Regions from separate parts of the Homo sapiens genome. Here region 2 is linked to region 1. The links are contacts of gene promoters, found by promoter capture Hi-C in blood cells and fetal thymus (Javierre and others, 2016). All regions are on one chromosome and are shown on one strand. The core of a region is centred on a gene start or on the middle of the fragment in contact, and the rest is flanking DNA. Distances in the headings are between cores, read along the strand shown. Region 1 holds the start of SUSD3 (sushi domain containing 3). Region 2 overlaps PHF2 (PHD finger protein 2).

Region 1 (4,012 bases), core at 544-3,043:
AGACACAGGGAGAGCACCATGTGTAGACAGGAGTTAAGTTGCCACCGGCCAAGGAACTGCCAGAAGCTGGATGATACAAGGAAGGCTGTTCTCCTGGAGTTTTTGGAGGGACTGCAGGCCTGCCGACACCCTGATCTCAGACTTCTGGCCTCCTGAACCATAAGACAATAAATTTCTGTTGTTCTCAGGCACCCAGTCTGGGGTACTATGTTACACAGCTCTAGGAAACACACTTCCTAAATGGCCAGGTGTTTAGCATTTGAAGGCTCCTGAAGGCCTGGGTCACAGCGTGGTGGCTTAGGGAGCTGCAGGCAGCCTGGTGTTTTCCATCCCCACCTAGCTCCACCCAGCTATTGGAGGGCTGCCCCAGACCTCCCTCCCAGCCCTGTCCATGCACCTACAGGCAGTGGCCTTCTGCCTGGTGGTGCATGGTGGGCAAAACCAGGGAAGGGACCACACAGGCCTGAGAGGTGGGCTAGGGGCCACTTGGCAAGACATTCTGGGGTCCCAGAGTGTGGTCTGGAGTGGGCACTGCTGATGGCCCTGCCCTTCCCGACATGGCAGAAAGAATACACATGCTTGATTTTGAATAAAGGAGATTGAAGTAAGCCATCGTGTGTGACCCACAAGTCCAAGTGGGAAGAACATATCAGGGGTGACGCCAACCCTGATGGCGAAAGGGGGAGGGCCCCTCACGTTTCACACTGAACCTCAGCTTTGGAGGGCTCGGAAAGCAGAGACGGGGAGGGGCTGCCCTGCTGGAACCCTGCTTCATGGTCCACCTGAACATCCACACTCTTCACGGTCACCTGCCAGGCACTCTAGAGCCAGCCTGGCCCACCTGGGCCACCTTCTGCGCTCCTGGAGGCATGCCTAAGCCAGCCGCACTGGGCTTCTGCTGCCACACATTGCCAAACCAGGGCCTTTGCACCTGCTGTTCCCTCTGCCAGGATTGCCTTTGCCAGCTCCACAGGAATAGGCATGGCTCAGGTGGTCTCCCACAAGCAGCCCAAGATCCAGGATGTCTGAGGCCTGACACCACACCCAACCCTTTGGTGGCTGCCTGGGCAGGGGGCTAAGCCTGGGTTGGGTGGGGTCAGAGGGAGAGAAAGAGCCCGGATCACAGCTCTGGGCCTGCTGCAAGTGGAGCTGGGTGGGAAGGGGAAGCCAGGAGAAGGGAGGCCTCCAGGTGTGGTGGGCCCTGCAGACAGACCCCAGGGCTTTCCATCCTGTTTCCCCCAGCCGGGGGCCCCTCAGTGAGAACCGAAGACAACAAGGGCACCCAGACCTCAGTGTGCCTCAGACGGCCTGGCCCAGTGAGAGACAGGGAAAGAAGGCTGGGTCCACACAGGACTCTGGGGGTGAGTGGGTTACGGGAGGGGCGGGCCGGGGAGGCGTTTTGCTGTTTGCCCTTTGGTACCGGCCGAATCCGGCACCCTGAGAAGGCAAAATCCTGCTCAAAAAATAAAAACACAGAAGCACATGGAAAAACCACACTAGGAGTGAAGGTGAGAACAGGAAGGGATGGGGGAAGGGTGTTGGGCAGAGGTAGCCACGCGTGCAACGCCCCGGAGTAGCAACACTTTCCGCTCAGCCGGCTGCCTTGGCCCGCTGGGTATTTGGTCTCCCCAAGGGCCCCCGCCCACAGCCCCCGGCCGGACCTCGGCCCCAGTCCAACGTGTGGGCGTGGTCTGTAAGTTGCATGGAACCGCCCCTGGGCGGGCGTGGAGGGCGGGGCCTCCCCGCCCCTCACCCAGGCCCAGGCCCAGGCCCCGCCCCCACAAGCCGGGCTCACTCCCCTGGCAGACCCCGCCAAGCGCCTCGGAGCGCGCAGGATGCGCTGGGCGGCCGCCACCCTCCGTGGCAAGGCGAGGCCCCGGGGGCGGGCCGGGGTCACCACGCCTGCCCCAGGGAACCGCACAGGTGAGGGCTGGGGCCGAGTGGCCGCGTGCGGGGCTCTGCGCCCATTTCACAGACGGGAAAGCCGAGGGGAGGGGGTCGCGGGGCCGCACAGCCGTGGGTGGGGGCCACAGCAACGATCTGCCCCGAGGACGAACCTCCTCGACCCTCCGCCGGCCCAGCAGGCGCCCTAGCGGAGCCGAAGCCTGGCAGCGAGCAGTTCGAAACCAGGCGGCTGCACGCAGCAGCCCGCGCGCCCGTTCCCGAGTGGCCGCAGCGCCTTGGTCCCGGGCGTCTGCGGACAGCGCGGCCGGCCAAGCCTCTCCACGCCGCAGGCTCCGGGCCCCTCCGCGCCCCTCCCGGGGAAGTCGAAACCGGCCTCACCTGGCGGGCGGGTGGCGCGGGGGCGGGAGGGGGGAGCCGGGAGCCCTCTCTGCGCCTGAGGGAGGTGTCATCTTCACGATTCCTTGGTGACCAGCGCAGCTCCACTTTACAGATGGAGAAACTGAGCCTGCGAGAGGGGAGTGGCTGTCCGAGGTCACCCTGTAGCCAGGCTTGGGATCGCCTCGGCTGTCTCGGAGGAGGCTCAGAGGCCTTTGGAAGGAAGAGAAGCTGCTTTTTATTTTACTTTTAAGTGTTTGAATTCAAGAATGTGCTTAAAGAGTTGTCTGCTCCCGTGCCCAAGGCTCCGGGGTTCGAATGCTGGCCTTGCTCCTTGAATGATTCTAAAGTCTAACCCTTTTAGAAACGGAACCAAACCGGAACTCTGGGTCTCAGATATCCCAAAAGCTTACTTCCGCGGCCACTGCCCACGAACGTTAGGCCTGAGGGTTCTGGGCGTCTCAGGCGTTGCGGGGCTAAGGCTCTGCGCAGGAGGAAGCTGAGGCCCGGAGTGGGGTGGGCTGGACCAGGTCACACTGTCAGCCTGCAGCCCCAGGGAACTGGCAGGAAGGTGGCAGGAGAATGGCTTCCTCTCACAGTTGGGGAAACTGCGGCTCAGGGAGCTAATTCACCGAGCAGAGGTCCGCAGCTCAGCAAAGTGGGCGCTGAGACTTGTTCCTGGCGCTGGTGGATTTGGTTTATTTAGTTTGACTCTGGCAGCCTAATGTCCAGAGTCCCTAATTTGGTGTTGGGGTGATGAGCACTTTTGCTCCTGTGTTTGAGCAAGGCCTGCCCAGGGCCTGGTACTACCTGAGGAGCCCCTTCTACTGGCACAACAGCCTGGGGGCGTGGGTGCCAGTGCCCTTTGGATAGCCTTGACTTGCCCAAGGTCAGCCCAAGGCCAGGGAGTATCTGGAGGCTCTGGCATATTTGCATACAAAAGGCTGTTTGCCTTGGAATTTGTGCTGGGAATGGAGCTTAGTCTGGCACCCTGTGCTCTTGTTCATCCTGCCTGGCCCTGGCTCTGCCTCTGACCACCATGACCACTTCCCAGGCACTGGCCCCCTTGTTGGAGTTTTGGGTTAGGATCCCCCCTGTGACCTGGGGTGAGTCGCTGTACCTCTGTGCCTCAGTTTCCCCATGTGCCCCAGTTTCCCCACTGTATACCTGCCCCCAAGCTTGTGGACAGGCCCAGTGGAGCCCAGGGAGGGTACTTGTTCTGGTGCAGGGATGATGCCATCATCTGGACTCCATCACTCCCCTGCCATGTGACCTCAGTTTCTTGCTCTGTGAAATGTGCTGTGAAGTTAGAGGCTGGGGGGTTGGGAGCCTTTGGAGAGGATTTGACACTAAAACACCACTGACCAGGAGTGGTGGCTCATGCCTCTAATCCCACACTTTGGGAGGCTGAGGTGGGCGGATTGCTTGAGTCCAGGAGCTCGAAACCAACCTGGGTAACATAGCAAGACCCCGTATCTACAAAAAATGCAAAAAAAAAATTAGCTGAGCATGGTGGCATGCGCCTGTAGTCCCAGCTATTCGGGAGGCTGAAAGGTGGAAGGATTGCTTTCGTCCAGAGTTCGAGGCTACAGTGAGCTGTGATCACCTCACTGCACTCCACCCTGGGCAACAGAGCGAGATTCTGTCTCAAAACAAAACAAAAACCAAAAACATAGCACGGGGATGTGTGTTTTTCCCACCATCTTTAAAATGGGGCCATTACCACTGGTTT
Region 2 (3,799 bases), core at 240-2,739, 520 kb after region 1:
CTGCAAAGTGAGCTGGCATCTCACTTTGTCACCAACTTACTTTGAATAATTTAAATCTCTGGGAAGCAGGAATGCTTCTGTTAAAGTTTTAAACATCCTTAACATGTAGCTTTCTGGCCCTCTTTCAGCTGCTTGTTCTATTGGACTGGAAGGGTTTTTGGAGGTGTAATCAGTAAAACTGACTTGAAAGAAATTGAAAGCTGTTCAGGTCACTTAAGTGACAGACATTTCATTCATACCTCAGTAAATATTTGTTGGGCTTGTATTCTGTACGGAGTTCAGAGCTGGCTGTGAGGGCCCAGGGGTTAGCCAGGCAGCTTCTCAGATTGGTGGCAGCCACCCTGGAGGGGGAGTGTCTCAGCAGAGGAGGGGCGAGAGTGGACTGAGGTTTTGACTGTCCCCCGTGTTGCATGTTGCTGTGGGGAGAGGTTGGGAGAAGGTTAGGGGCAGGGAGCCAGTGAGGAGGTGACTGTCACCCTGCCTGTGTACCCAGGGGGTGGGGAGTGAGGACTGGGGTCGGTAGAAGGGTCACATTCTGGAAGTGCTCAGAAGGTAGAGTGGACAAGACTTGCCTGGCATGGCTCCCTCCAATTCCTCTGTGTCCGTCTGTCTGTCTGGGCTCAGCCTGCCCTCCTCCTCAGGGCCCTGTCTCTGTGTCCACCTCCCTAGGGATGGAGTTGGCCTTTCTGGGCTCTCATTGTGCCCACCTAGTCTTAAGCTTCTTGAGGCAGAGCCATGTTCAGGGGCTACCTGGGAACACCAGGCGGGGCTGTGGCCTCGCGCTGCAGGCCAGCTCTGTTGTTGGCCAGTGGAGTGTGTGTGCGAGAGGGAAGGAGGTCCTGCCGTGGGTCAAATCTGGGTGATCAGAACTGACAGTTAAATCCTAGAACCTCAAATGCCGGGGAGTACTGGGGGAAGGGGCTCTCCTCATGGAGATGTTGTTGTGATGTGTTTAGGAATAAATCATTTTAAAACAAGGAATTCTCCCCCTGTGTGAGTTTTGAAAGTTCTGGAGGAGGTGGGAAGAATGTCAGGCCAGCTTCTAGAGGGTAAAGTAGACATCCCTCTCTGTCGATGCTTTCCAAAGGAGGTGTGTCTTGAAGGAAGCAAGGAGCTTCATCTTAATTGTCAGAACGTTTGCTATTATTGAATATACTTAATATTTGACTGGAAGTGTGCTTGATCTGAACTTCTGGACTGCAGCCCACGTTTGTTTGGGGCTGCTTGGGTGAAATGTGGCCACAGATGCCCTAAAATCTGGGCAGAGATTTGGGTGGACGCTGCCACCCCCAGGCATCCTCTTTTATGGCTGTCCCTGTAGTGCCTCGACATGTGCCAGGTCCTTCTAAAAGAGTGAGTTTTTCTGGTGGGAGCAAGTGTGGGCCAGAAAATAGTGTTCCGTGACACAGTTCTCTGGGAGAATCTCACTTTTGAAATTCAGGGTGTGGGTAAAACAAAGTCCATCTCTTGGTTTTTTTAAATAACAGATGGGCCTGATTGTGCTGCGGAAGCTAACATTCAGTCGGGGTTTAATGCCATAGGGGTTTTTCATTCATCATGTTTGGTTCCCACGTCGACTGCGAGGGGCAGATAGTGTGGGTCACCCTGTCACCTTCATTCCCAGCATGGACACAGAAGCAGCTAGGGCCTCTGTCACACACAGGTCTCTGGCTTCATCAGGTGCACTCTGAGCTGCAGCAGGTGGACACACTCACCTCCCAGAGGGTGCAGGTGAGGAGGTGGCACCTGGCTTAGGTTATTCTGGCTCAAGGGCCTGAGCAAATACCGGGGCTGATAACTGCTCGTGTCCATGGTTTCAGCAGTGTAACACGGACGGAAATGTAGTCACAGAGGAAGGCCACATACTGAGCTAGGGGATGGGAGGTGCTTCCCTGTCCAAGCAGCTGACTGCAGCAGCTCCCTCCTGGGTCTGAATATACCCAGTGTCTCTCAGGGTCTCTCGCTGTAGTGCCTCCCTCTCTGCATCTCTCCTTCTCTGTCCCCTAACTTCTGCCAACCTTGATTCTCAGCTTTTTGGCTCTGTGGCAGGTAGGTGGCCCTAGCTGTGAGGTCCAGAATGGGACTTGGCTTCTATGCTTTAGGGTACAGGACCTGTTTACTTTTCTCCTGGACCCCCCCGCCACCATAGTGCTGGGTCACTCACAGAAGAACATATGAACATATTTAGAATTCTAGCCAGTGGTTTGGATCTCAAAGCATAGGAACTGAAAAATCTTTGTGGTATCTGTCCCTGTCTATCAAAGCTTTCCAAAGGAGGCGTGTCTTGAAGGAAGCAATTTGGTGTGAGCCTCATCTTAATTGCCAGAATGTTTGCTTTTATTGAAAATATTTAGCTAGAAATGTGCACATGGGGAAACGAGCCTTTTACCTTTTTTAAAAATTGAGGTGAAATTCATATAAAATTAACCATTTGAAAGTGTGAAGTTGAGTGGCATTTAGTGTCTTCATAGTGTTGAGCAACCACCACCTTTATCTAGTTCCCAAACATCTTCCTCACTCCTAAAGTAAACCCGGTATCCAATAAGTAGTCACTGCCCTTTCTTCCTCCCACTAGCCCCTGACAACTAGCAGTCTGCTTTCTGTCTCTATAGGTGTGTCTATTCTGGATATTTACTATTTCATACGAATAGAATCATACAATATGTAACTTTTTGTGTCTGACTTCTTTCACTTAGCACAATATTTTTGAGGTTCATCCACATTGTATCATGTGTCTGTGTTTCATTGATTTTTATGGCTGAATAATATTTCATTGTGTGGATAGACCACAGTTTATCCATTCATCAGTGTATGGGCATCTGGGTTCTTTCCACCTATGGCTGTTGTATATGGTGCTGCTATAAACATTTGTGTATAAATATTTGTTTGAACACCTGTTTTCAGTTCTTTTGGATATATACTTGGGAATGGAATTGCCGGATCATATGGTAACTCTATGTTTAACTTTTTGAGTAACTGGCAAACTGTTTTCCACAGGGGCTACATTATTTTAAATTCTCCTCAGCAACGTTCCAATTTCTCCACATCCTCACCAACACTTGTTTTCCTAATTTTTTTTTTTAAATTAAAGCTATTCTAGTGGGTATAAAGTGGGATTTCCTTATGTTTTTGGCTAGCATTTCTCTACTGACCAATGATGTTGAACAGCTTTCACATGCTTGTTGGCCATTGGTATATCTTCTTTGGACAAATGTCTACTCAAGGCCTTTGCCCACTTTTACATTGGATTGCTTGTCTTTTTATTGCTGAAGTGTAAGAGTTCTTTATATAGTCTAGATACTGTATCCTTTTTTTTCTTTTCTTTTTTTTTTTTTTTTTTTGAGACGGAGTTTTGCCCTTGTTGCCCAGGCTGCAGTACAATGGCGTGATCTCAGCTCACCACAACCTCTGCCTCCCTGGTTCAAGTGATTCTCCTGTCTCAGCCTCCTGAGTAGCTGGGATTACAGGCATGCACCACCACGCCTGGCTAATTTTGCATTTTTAGTAGAGATGGAGTTTCTCCATGTTGGTCAGGCTGGTCTCGAACTCTCGACCTCAGGTGATCTTCCTGCCTTGGCCTCCCAAAGTGCTGGGATTATAGGCATGAGCTACTGCGCCCAGCCTAAGTGCTGTATCCTTATCAGATACATGAGTTGCAAATACATTTTTCCATTTTGTGGGTTGTCATTTCACTTTCTTGATAATGACTACTGATGCACAAAAGTTTTTAACTTTGATAAAGTCTGGTTTATCTCTTTTTTGTTTTGTTGCTTGTGCTTTTGGTGCCATTTCTAAGATT

Evidence for each region. The method cuts DNA at HindIII sites, captures the fragments that hold promoters and counts their contacts. A CHiCAGO score of 5 or more calls a contact.
Region 2: a contact is called between a fragment that was not itself captured here and the fragment with the promoter of SUSD3 in region 1, in 1 of 17 cell types (fetal thymus). The highest score is 7.0, in fetal thymus.

What each region holds. Positions count from the first base shown.
Region 1 is chr9:93,056,908-93,060,919 of GRCh38, forward strand. It overlaps SUSD3 (sushi domain containing 3), which reads left to right and starts at 1,794. Exons shown (of 5, transcript NM_145006.4): 1 at 1,794-1,923. The coding sequence starts at 1,836. RefSeq lists silencers at 1,509-1,958, 1,969-2,378 and enhancers at 1,889-2,869, 2,870-3,850, 3,919-3,968. The HindIII fragment of the contact is 6,174 bases long and covers 1-2,686 here.
Region 2 is chr9:93,580,505-93,584,303 of GRCh38, forward strand. All of the region lies in intron 1 of PHF2 (PHD finger protein 2), which reads left to right. Among named protein-coding and RNA genes, the nearest start is that of PHF2, 5.8 kb to the left of the region's middle. The HindIII fragment of the contact is 1,546 bases long and covers 717-2,262 here.